Regions from separate parts of the Homo sapiens genome. Here all the other regions are linked to region 1. The links are contacts of gene promoters, found by promoter capture Hi-C in blood cells and fetal thymus (Javierre and others, 2016). All regions are on one chromosome and are shown on one strand. The core of a region is centred on a gene start or on the middle of the fragment in contact, and the rest is flanking DNA. Distances in the headings are between cores, read along the strand shown. Region 1 holds the start of ZNF547 (zinc finger protein 547). Region 2 holds the start of ZNF420 (zinc finger protein 420). Region 3 has its middle 2.7 kb from the start of ZNF585B. Region 4 has its middle 4.4 kb from the start of ZNF875.

Region 1 (2,902 bases), core at 134-2,633:
GGTCGTCTTTGGATTCTGCCTTCCCAGCTGGCAAAAACTCCATTTCAAAAACTGGATTATCATGGTGACCAACAATTACAAAGTAGAAGCTTCCAGACATGGTCTTCAATATATGGCTCCTGCAGCGGGAGGCCGACAACGGAAACGCAATGTCAGTTTCCGCGGAAGAGACCCGCGCTCCGCACCTTTTTTTGACACGGAATCTCGCTCTGTCGCCCAGGCTGGAGTGCAATGGCGCGATCTTGGCTCACTGCAATCTCCACCTCCTGGGTTCAGGCAATTCTCCTGCCTCAGCCTCCCGAATAGCTGGGATTACAGGCGCGCGTCACCACCCCCGGCTAATTTTTGTATTTTTACTAAAGACGGGGTTTCACCATGTTGGTCAGGCTGGTCTTGAACGCCTGACCTTGTGATCCGCTCGCCTTGGCCTCCCAAAGTGCTGGGATTACCGGCGTGAGCCACCACGCCCGGCCACCCTCTATTCTTTTGAAGAATCTACACCAGTTCTCCTCTGTAGACTCCACACCTTTCTGTCCCCCTACCCATGTGACATTTTCAACTTGAGACGCCTGAGAATCACACTGGCCAAACTCCAACCCATGATCTTCTCCATGAAACCTACTTCTCATGCTGCTGACTTCCCCAACTTCATTCTTTCAGATGTTCGGGCAAAAAAAAAAAAATGACCCTTCACTCCCTATTTTTGCTCACAGACATATCTGATACGGCAGGAAAACCTGTTGGCTCTATCTTCCAGGTCTATCCAGAATCCCATCACATTGTCCCTCTTATACCACGGCTCTGGTGCAGCCTCTGGGATCCACTGCAGTGGCCTCTTCTGGGTCTCTCTGTGTCAATTCCCCATCCTGCTCGTTCTAACTCTGGACCTGCCCCTCCCACTGGTCTTCCCTTGACAACCTTCCATGGTTATACCGGCTGCTCAGGCTGCCATTCCAAGAGAAAATTCACAAAACCCTCTCTTTCCCGCAGAAACAACCCACACTCCGGGCTCCCCGACGCGGCCCACTTGGCAGCACCTCCATGCTCTGAACCTGAGATCCCCGAAGGGAGCTCTGAGGCTGCATCAAACCAGCTGATACGGGGACCCCACACAGGAACGCCCCTCTCTTCGAGACAAGGGGCCTGACCTGCAGGGCCCCTTCTATGGGCTTCAGCACTGGAAGGAGGGGTCGGGCGGAGGTGGGGGGGGGCCTGGGACGGGGCACCCACCTCGGGTTCTTCGGCGGGGACTCCGCAAGTCCAGCCAGGGAAGAGAGGGGCGGGGGCGACAAAGGCAAGACAAGGACACCGCCGTCCCCAGTCCTTGTCAGCTGAGCTTCTGCCACTGTCAGTTGTGCCTGTGTCACTACCGCCTCTGCGTACAAGGAACCAAGCCGCTTCTCGCGCTTTTCCGCTCCGTCACTTCGGTGACGTCATAGAGCGCCAAAGGCCGGAACTAGTGAAAACACCAGAGAAAATCAAATCAACCACGGCAAGAGGACGCCGGAAGTCCCGCCCTCCTACGATGCGCGAGCACGAGGACGGACGCACGCACGCACGCACGCACGCAAAGGTTCCTTCCTGCACATTCATTGGGTCAGTCGCGCTGCCGAGAACCGCAGTGTCTTCTGGGTTATGAAGTTTCGACACCGCTTCTGGACTTGCCTTAGAGCGTTGGTCAGTCCTTATATGGCGGATAGAGGCTCAGTGGCACCGTCAGGGGAGCTGGTAAACAGAGTGCCGGACTCCACGGACAGGACGGGGCTTGGGTTGCTCTTAAAGGCGACATAACCAGATTTTCTTGAAGTAAGGTCTAGGATACTCACAGAAATGTGAGGGACCTATGATATCGGATTGTGAAGCACAGCAAGTTCTCAACGGCTACACCGCCAAAGGGACACACTATACCACAAAGGCACTCTGTCTCTACTCATGCCTCTCAGCCATATGTTGCTTTTCAAATACACATACAGTTAAACTTTGACTTCTATTTATTAAGCTTCAATATGGTTGGTCCAAGAGAACAAAGAAAGACTACATGGCTGGGAATTTGCACAAAAGAAGACAGGAGATACCGACGTAGATTGAAAGGGTGACGCTGTGCCTCTGGATCCAGAAGAAAACATCATTACTGTCTGTAGAGTCAGTGATTGTGTTCCTACCAAGAGTGCAATGCTTTTATTCTAATAATACTTATTACTTCATGTCTGAAATATTTTACATTTATTTTAAAAGTCTCAATCCTGTCTGAAAATGAGAGTGACTGATACATGCCATTTCCTGACAGGACATTTTGTGCCATTCCATAGTTGGAGTATATGTACACAGGGAACGTATTATCCCCAATAAAAACTGTGAACTTTCATGATCTTATCTCCTTCCTGAGAAGTGAGTTATCATTTTACAGGGAGTTGAAATTATCTGTGAAAATACTTGTGAAATGAAAATTACAGAAATCTATTAATAATAACTGTTAGGTTTTGAAGGGAAGGCGAGGGTTAAAGAAAGGCAGAGTTGGCAGCTCTACAGCAATGCAGGTTTTATGTCCAGCACGAGACCTGTGATGGGGAGAACTAGCTTAGTGCCAGAACCCCTCACTGCTTACAGGCTGGGGCAATTATAGGCCTGGATGAGAGGGGTCAGGGGTGGGGGGCAGGGGGCGCGGCGGGAGGGTATGACTTGCTGCCCAGGAGGATGGTGGGTTTTTTTTTGTTTTTGGAGGAGTCTCGCTCTTGTCGCCCAGCCTTGAGTGCAATGGCGTGATCTCGGCCCACTGCAACCTCCGCCTCCCGGAGTTCAAGCGATTCTTGAACTCCGCCTCCCGAGTAGTTGGCTTTACAGGCGCGTGCCACCACGCCCGGCTAATTTTTTTGTATTTTTAGTAGGGACAGGGTTTCACCAT
Region 2 (2,902 bases), core at 168-2,667, about 20 Mb after region 1:
GCTAATTTTGTATTTTTAGTAGAGGTCATGGTGAAACCATGACCTCAGGTAATCCACCCGCCTCTGCCTCCCAAAGCGCTGGGATTACAGATGTGAGCCACCGCGCACAGCATCCAGTGGCTGTCTTGAAGGTATTATCAGCCCTAAAATTCTCATCCTAAGACCAGGTCTGTAACTTGCAAATAACTCCTATTCATCACTCAGGTGTCCAAATGTCTGACTTCCTTACTTCTTGCCACTTCCCTGCACCCAATCCCCTTAAGGCTATAAGGCAAGAGGACGCAGGGAAGAAGTCGTGAACTCGTAAGTAACTACATTTCCCAAGGTGAACCGAGGATGGATACAGAAATGAAGCAATACAGGCCATGGATGAAAGGGCAGCCACTGTGGTCAAATCAAAAAGTCCTTAAGTCCTCAGAGCCACATGGGAGGAGCACAGAGCCACATGGGACTCACAATCCATAGGCAGACCTCAGCCCCAAATGAACCCCAGAAATACCAAAAAGAAATTTACTTCTGTACTGGACTAAACCCCCATAAGGTCACAGAATATACAAATGGCCACATAAAGTCACACATAATCACATTTCCACAGTTACACAGCTAGAGGCACAATCACCCAATTATGCTACATTGTTAGACCACCTTGTCTCAAACAAAATCCCATTAAGTACAAGGCATATAATTACATCCAAGCACCTTGTCAGAGACACATACCGCCAAAAACACCCTTTCAAAGCTGCAATTTTAGTCTCTTTACACAGTCATGAAAACAGCACACACAACCCCACAGTCACACACAATCAGACAGTCACCCAACCCAGTACGAAATCAGGGAAACACGCGGTAATAAACACCGTGTCACAGCAACACTGTCACACACCTTAAATTTACTGGCAAATCCATCCCACGATATCAGGTTTACACACAACCTCAAAGTGACACAAGAACATCCAAACACTCTTGTCACAACTGTCACACACTTCATAGTCACAGGCAAACCCCAATTATACACGCGGCACACATAAAATCACAGTCACATAAGTATATCCCAGCCAGGTAAGCAAACAGTCACAAACACCCTCAGAGTCACAACTCACACTCATACAAATGCTCATACACAAAACCACAGCCACACACGTCCAGTCGTGTATGCACAGGCAGTCGCCAATACCAGGCAGGCTGTAGCCTGCACACAAAACCGGAGACACGGCCACACGAGTAACCCCAGCGACGCTTTCTCCGCGCGTGTCCGCTCCGGCATCCCGGACACTCCTACCTTGACAGAGGTGCAGTTCAGGGTCCAAGATCTGGCTCCCGGGTTCCAAGCCCAATTTCGGGTTCGCCAGCCCAGCAGGTGCGGAGCCAAGCTCCTCCACAGACGCGGCCCTCTCCCCACGCGAGGCCTCCAAATCTCGCAAACTAACGGAAATGAAGCTACGCTCCGGGAGCGGTGCCTCTGGGAAATGTAGTCCAGCGCTCCGGACGCCGTGCCTCTGGGAAATGTAGTCCAGCGCTTGGCTAGCCGGCCAGAACGCCAGGAGGCCCGGGCCGCTCACCCCTCGAGGGGCTCGTGGGCTCGGCCTGTGGAACCTGCTTGTCCCGCCTGCAGCGCCCCGGAGGTTTCTGGGAGTGCCCGCCCGCCCGCGCTCAGTGCGCAGGCGTCAGACGCTCAGGGCCTGCGAGAGCGAGCTGAGTGGTCCCAGGGTCTACCCCTGGCAGGAGAGAGGGTGGGACCCGCCGGCCAGGCAGGTGCGGGGGAGGAGCTGGGGCCGGTGCGGGGACCCGCCGGAACCTCGGATTTGCAGAGGACCCTGTGTGTGCCCTCCCAGGCCCTTGGGGTGTGTGTGACAATGGGAGATGCCAGGTGGACTGAGAGTCTTTCCGTGGCCGGGTGTGTATGGTTGTGTTTCTGCCTGTGTGTGATTCTTCCTGCTGTGGGGTGTGAGGTGATTTGTACTTTAAGCTGCGTAGTAATGGGATTTTATAACTGTGTAGAATCGTCTAACAGAGTAAGACGATTTTACACAGATCTCTATTGTGGTTTGCTTATGAAGGGTATCTGTATGTATATCTGCTTTTTTGTGTGTGGCCGTAATTGAGTAACTGGTGATCTGTGTTATATAAACGTGCTTTCTTTGTGCTTGTATTTCAGTGTCTGTAAGGGTGCCAAGAGCAAATGAGCTGTGTGTGATCGTGTGTGACAGTGAAAATACTATGGCCAAGTTATTTCTTCCTTAAATAGTAATGTAATAATCTGGAAAAGATAATCAATTTATCTGACAAGTAATTTAGACATCATTTTTCTATTGGATCAAATATATGTGTTATCGGGAAGAATCCAAAATTAACGTAGTTTTTTCTTTGTTTTTAGAAAGATTATTTCAAAACCAGTCCTAGGGTAACTGCCTTTTCCTCTGCCACAGCAGGCCAAAAGTAGATATCCATTATTTTCTAATTAGAGGGTAAAGTTTCTCTTATTACTGGGTACGGTTGAGAGGCCATCAACTAATAAAATAATAAAACAACGTTATACATAAGAAGAGTGAATTTTAGCACAGTACAGCACTAGTCAGATTTCCCAAATTCTAGGTCAAACACTTGTCCTCATTTTCTGATGAGAAAACCTTGGCCGGCAGAAAGTAACTTAAGGCTGTAGAGTTTGTTGGTAAACCTGAACTTATTTTTACTTACTTCAAGACCTCTTGGCCTTTTATGATTTTTGAATAATCAAAAACTTGTGAACTTCCAGCACAGAGAAGATAGAGTATAATTTCACCACTCCTTCAGAGGGAAAAAAATTAATAAAACTTGGTCTTGCAAGACCATATATCAAATACATTGATCTCTTACCGGTAATGTGACTGGAATAGCAAATTTGGTGATCAGAATTCTTGAGGGA
Region 3 (2,902 bases), core at 198-2,697, about 20 Mb after region 1:
GGGTTTAGTTATGTTGCCCAGTCTAGTTTCAAACTCCGGGCCTCAAGTAATCCTCCCACCGAGGCCTCCCAAAGTGCTGGGATTACAGGCATGAGCCACCACAACAGCTGTGTCATCCCAACCCCTCTCTGGGCTTGATCACATAAAGAAGGCTTGCATTCCTCAGATAAAAGCCATTTATTTTCTTTTTCAACACTATGCGGAGTGAGATAAGCCAGACCAAAAGGACAAATATTGTATGAATCCACTTATATGAGGTGCCTAGAATAGGTGTATTCATAGAGACAGAAAGTAGAATTGAAGTTACATGAAGTTATATGAGGTACATGATAAAGCCTCTATACTTAAAACAGTGTGCTATTTGTGTGTGGTTAGAGAGACAGACAAAGGGAGGAGGATGGGAAATGGAGAAATAAACATCCATGGCCGGGCGCGGTGGCTCACGCCCAGCCCTTTGGGTGGCCGAGGTGGGTGGATCACCTGAGGTCAGGAGTTCGAGACCAGCCTGGCCAACATGATGAAACCCCATCTCTACTAAAAATACAAAAAATAAGCTGGGCATGGTGGCATGCGCCTGTCATCCCAGCTACTCAGGAGGCTGAGGCAGGAGAATTGCTTGAACCTGGGAGGCGGAGGTTGCAGTGAGCCGAGATTAAGCCACTGCACTCCAGCCTGGGCAACAGGAGCAAAACTCCGTCTCAAAAAAAGAAAGAAAGAAAGAAATTAACATCCCGGCCAGGCACGGTGGCTCACACCTGTAATCCCAGCACTTTGGGAGGCCAAGGCGGGTGAATCATGAGGTGAAGAGATCGAGACCATCCTGGCCAACATGATGAAACCCCGTCTCTACTAAAAATACAAAAATTAGCTGGGTGTGGTGGCACGCGCCTGTAGTCCCAGCTACTCGGGAGGCTGAGGCAGGAGAATCGCTTGAACCTGGGAGGCAGAGGTTGCAGTGAGCTGAGATTGTGCCACTGCGCTACAGCCTGGTGACAGAGTGAGACTTCATCTCAAAAAAAAAAGAAATTAACATCCACATAGATGCTTAGTATTTGATAAAGGTAGCAGCTCAAATCACCACAGTCACATCATAAAGTTTTATGCAGCCCATACACACACAGCAGAAAAAAAAAAAAACGAAGCTCTCTACGGAATGACATTAACTCTGGAATATATAAAAAATGGAAAGTATAGAACAGTGTAACATATAGTTCGTCTAAAAAAGAAAAGGAAATTAGATTAGATATAAGCATTTGTTTATATTCACTAAAAAAAGAAAAGATAGGAAAAAAGAAGTATTGGAAACGTGAACCAGAAACAATACCTATAGTGATAACCTATAGTGATTGGGGTGGTGGGGGGAGTGAGACTTGATATGTCTTTTTATACAGTTGCATAGGAAAAACAAACTGGTTTTAAAAATATATACTCTCACAACACTCAATACTTCCAGAATGTTTCGTTTTTAACACAAAATATGTGGAGTTTTTCTGACACCACTTCTCCAGCCCTCCCTACATGGGTGTCCTACAATTGAATTCAATTCTGACACTAACCTGAGTTAGCACAGACCTTACAGTTTAATTGCTCAGTCCCACAAGACTGCCCACCTCTTCAGATGCCAATGACAACTACTAGGTCACCTGATTACCAACAACTGCCCAGTTTGCCTGAAAATTAGAGGTTCTCATCATCCCCTTCTTGGATTTGATTCTACCAAACTTTTAAGGGAGAACAAATTCTAATATTTCTCAAACTAATCCAAAAAAATTGAAGGGGAAGGAATTTTTCCAAACTGATTCTGTGAGGCCAGCACCATCCTCATACTAAAACCAGGCAAAGACAGAAGAAAGAGAAAACTACAGGCCAAGATCCCTGATAAACGCAGATGCAAAAATCCTCAACAAAATACTAGCAAACCAAATCCAATAGCATGTCAAAAAGATACACAATGATCAAGTGGGACTTATCCCAGGGAAGCAAAGATGGTTTAACATATGCAGATTAGTATGTGCAATACATCACATTGACAGAATGAAGGACAAAAATCATATGGTCATCTCAATAGAAACAGAAAAAGCATTTGACAAAATTCAACATCTCTTTGCAATCAAAAAAAAAAAAAAACAAAACTCCCTGGCCGGGCTCGGAGGCTCACGCCTGTAATCCCAGTTCTTTGGAGTCTCACTCTGTCACCAGGCTGGAGTGCAGTGGCTCCATCTCAGCTCCCTGCAACCTCCACCTCCTGGGTTCAAGTGATTCTACTGCCTCAGCCTCCCAAGTAGCTGGTACTACAGGCGCACGCCACCACACCCAGCTAATTTTTGTATTTTTAGTAGAGGCAGGGTTTCACCATGTTGGCTAGGATGGTCTCGATCTCTTGACCTCATGATCCACCTGCCTCGGCCTCCCAATGCGTTGGGATTACAGGCATGAGCCACTGCGCCCAGCTGGGATTGCTTTTGAGCCTGGGCAGTCAAGGTTGCAGTGAGCCATGATTGTGCCATTACACTCCAGCCTGGGTGACAGAGTGAGACTCTGTCTCAAAAAAAAAAAAAAAAAAAAAGCAAGATTTTCTTCAGGTGTTTTTAGTCACACGTTGGCCATATTAAAGACTGTTATTATTATTATTGTGCTGTTGTTGTTGTTGTTGTTGTTTTGAGATGGAGTTTTGCTCTTGTTGCCCAGGCTAGAGTGCAATGGCATGATCTCGGCTCACTGCAACCTCCGCCTTCTGGGTTCAAGCGATTCTCCTGCCTCAGCCCCCCAAGTAGCTGGGATTATAGGCACACACCACCATGCCCAGCTAATTTTGTATTTTTAGTAGAGACGGGGTTTCACCATGTTGGTCAGGCTGGTCTCGAACTCCCCACCTAAGGTGATGTGCCCGCCTCGGCCTCCC
Region 4 (2,902 bases), core at 131-2,630, about 20 Mb after region 1:
TAGGCAGAGGTCCCTGCGGCCTTCTGCAGTTTTTGTGTCCCTGGGTACTTGAGATTAGGGAGTGGTGATGACTCTTAAGGAGCATGCTGCCTTCAAGCATCTGTTTAACAAAGCACATCTTGCACCGCCCTTAATCCATTTAACTCTGAGTTGACACAGCACATGTTTCAGAGAGCACGGGGTTGGGGGTAAGGTTATAGATTAACAGAATCTCAAGGCAGAAGAATTTTTCTTAGTACATAACAAAATGGAGTCTCCTATGTCTACTTCTTTCTACACAGACACAGTAACAATCTGATCTCTCTTGCTTTTCCCCACATGGGCGTGGTGGCCACTGCCTGTAATCCAGCTACTTGGGAGGGTGAGGCAGGAGAATCACTTGAACCCAGGAGGCAGAAGTTGCAGTGAGCCAAGATTGTGCCATTGCACTCCAGCCTTGGCAACAAGAGCGAGACTCTCAAAAAAAAAAAAAAAAAAAGCAAGGAGTTATTAGCTCTATACACTTTTTTTTTTTTTTTTTTTTGAGACAGAGTCTCACTCTGTCGCCCAGGCTGGAGTGCAGTGGTGCCATCTCGGCTCACTGCAAGCTCCGCCTCCCAGGTTCACGCCATTCTCCTGTCTCAGCCTCCCGAGTAGCTGGGACTACAGGCGCCTGCCACCTCGCCTGGCTAATTTTTTTGTATTTTTAGTAGAGATCGGGTTTCACCATGTTAGCCAGGATGGTCTCGATCTCCTGACCTCGTGATCCACCCGCCTCAGCCTCCCAAACGCTGGGATTACAGGCGTGAGCCACCACGCCCAGCCAAGCTCTATATACATTTATAGAAGAAACTTCTAATTTGAAAAACTCAAAGTTTTAAGTAACAATGATCACAAAAGGGGAAGAACAAACTTCCAGAATCTTGGGGACAGAGGGTGGTGTGGTGGGAAGAGAGGGAATTACTCTGTCACCAATGAGTCAAAAAAGTTATTAAAGATTAATTTTAAATGAATAAAACTAAAAACCAAGACTTACAGAATGAGACTAAAACCATGGCTGGAGGAAAACTTTTAGCCTGAAAGTAGCCTATGACTTAGAAATTAAGGCAGAAAACTAAGGAGTAAGCAGTTACCCTTCAGGTTAGAAAACCAACAGAATAACAGGAAATGAGAGAGGGAGGAAATAATCAGATGGGGCTGAGATGGGGGCTTATGGGGATGAAGGAGGCAGGAAGAGCACATTAAGTCTGTGCATAAAGTCACTCCCTAAGGACAGTCCCTGAGAGGAAAGTGGGTGCACAAGGATCAGGCTAGGTGTAAAAGGTGACAGGCAACCCTGGAGGGTACATTCAAGGGTTGACAGTGGCTAAGAAAACAGGAGGGAAAGTCAAGTGTTGAGCCTTTCCTGTCCCTAGCATGGAAGACATCAGGAGCTGATGAGTGAAAGTGATAAACACCATTCTCATCACCAAAAAAAGTCAAGTATTTGAGGTAATGGATAGGATAATTTGACTTAAACATTCCACACTGTATGGAAAAATCATAACATCATTTTGTACCCCATAAATATATACAATTTAAAAGATAGGTAAAAATCAGAAAAAAATTGAAAAAATATTCTTTATTTTTCAAACATATATAATTTATGGAGTACAATCTAATTCATCAATGTATATGATTTTTTTTAATGGTAAGTCAATAAACACAGCAAACAGTCCCTTGAGAGGCAGAGAAGGAAAATGGGCACAATCTGCCCTTAGAAAGACACAGCATTTAAATCCACGCATGTGAGAACTCCAGGATTCAAGACTAGGGGTCAAAACACAACCTGGTTTATCACCTATAGCCACAGGATGGCACCAACACCCACTGCTCCAGCCTGAGCTGGCCAGAGAGAGAGAGCATCCAGGAAAAGCTGGAACCTCCCAGAAGGCCTGAGACCTGCAGGTACCACACTGTAGTCCACTGAAGAGGAGGGCCCAATGTGAGGGGGAAAAAACCACTGAGGAAACATAATATTTGTGTATTTTTAATAAGATATTTAATACGTGTTCAGGTAGAAGTAGGTACAATGACAGAAAATAAGGTAGAGGAATGTGCTAGACACCACAGATACGTAATGATGGACAATAAATGACATGATGTGGAGAGTTCACCCACACATGCAGACTTCTTATGTTCACATAAACATTTATCTGCATGCATCACCCAGTAGAGACAAACTGCACTTACACTGTGAAGTCAACGAGGAGATAAAGTAAAAATCAAATACTTATGGAGAGAGTCAGTCTCTCCATTTAGTGGGAAACCCTTCAGAACACGCACACAGCATCTCCCCTCCCTTCTGAATACCATCCATAGCCTGCAGCAGTAGATGGCAAATCACAGCCTGGGCCACCCTTCCCAGAATGTCAAAAACATGGACATGCAGACCACAGAATTCACCAGATACCCAAGCTGGGTGGTGCGAGGCTCTGAAAGACATGCTTCAAATAAGAGGGACTAGAAAACTCCGCAAGGGAGCAACAGGGATCAGGGATTCCAGGAGGATCCAGGGGCCTGTGCGAAGAGCAAGCAGTGAGCAGATGTGTGTGTCAGTGATTCGGTGGCATGAACTCAACACCATCTAATACAGCAGCTCACGTTTCTTTGTGCATCAGACTCACCTGGGGACTTGTTAAACACAGATTGTTGGGTCTCACTCCTAGAGTTTCTTCTTCAGTATTCTGGGGAGCAGCCTGTGAATCTGTATTTCCAGCATGATTTTCAGGTGCTACTGATACTATTGGTCCAAGGACCACACTATGATCTAATTTAACATCAGATTAGGGGAGGAACTAAGGAGCAAAGAAGCAACAGAATGGACCTGAACCCTGTACGGGCTTCTCTGTAAACTCCTCAAACATAAAAGCCTTCGAGACAC

What was found. Contacts are between HindIII fragments. The CHiCAGO score rates a contact against its expected background, and 5 or more counts as called.
Region 2: a contact is called between the fragment with the promoter of ZNF420 here and the fragment with the promoter of ZNF547 in region 1, in 1 of 17 cell types (non-activated CD4 T cells). The highest score is 8.7, in non-activated CD4 T cells.
Region 3: a fragment that was not itself captured here is called in contact with the fragment with the promoter of ZNF547 in region 1 in 5 of 17 cell types (total CD4 T cells, non-activated CD4 T cells, total CD8 T cells and 2 more); the score reaches 14.4 in total CD4 T cells.
Region 4: a fragment that was not itself captured here is called in contact with the fragment with the promoter of ZNF547 in region 1 in 1 of 17 cell types (fetal thymus); the score reaches 8.2 in fetal thymus.

Annotation. Positions count from the first base shown.
Region 1 is chr19:57,362,032-57,364,933 of GRCh38, reverse strand. It overlaps ZNF547 (zinc finger protein 547), which reads right to left and starts at 1,383. Exons shown (of 4, transcript NM_173631.4): 1 at 1,231-1,383. It overlaps TRAPPC2B (trafficking protein particle complex subunit 2B), which reads right to left and starts at 1,383. Exons shown (of 2, transcript NM_001355204.2): 1 at 1,231-1,383; 2 at 1-119. The coding sequence starts at 100. RefSeq lists enhancers at 1,331-1,710, 1,751-1,830. The HindIII fragment of the contact is 1,910 bases long and covers 92-2,001 here.
Region 2 is chr19:37,076,948-37,079,849 of GRCh38, reverse strand. It overlaps ZNF420 (zinc finger protein 420), which reads right to left and starts at 1,417. Exons shown (of 5, transcript NM_144689.5): 1 at 1,280-1,417. It overlaps LOC105372390 (a long non-coding RNA gene), which reads left to right and starts at 1,653. Exons shown (of 2, transcript XR_001754095.2): 1 at 1,653-1,752. RefSeq lists an enhancer at 1,342-1,581 and a silencer at 1,672-1,961. The HindIII fragment of the contact is 14,557 bases long and covers 1-2,902 here.
Region 3 is chr19:37,211,743-37,214,644 of GRCh38, reverse strand. No RefSeq gene overlaps it. Among named protein-coding and RNA genes, the nearest start is that of ZNF585B, 2.7 kb to the right of the region's middle. The HindIII fragment of the contact is 8,273 bases long and covers 1-2,902 here.
Region 4 is chr19:37,328,808-37,331,709 of GRCh38, reverse strand. It overlaps a transcript of ZNF875 not described here. Among named protein-coding and RNA genes, the nearest start is that of ZNF875, 4.4 kb to the left of the region's middle. The HindIII fragment of the contact is 7,336 bases long and covers 1-2,902 here.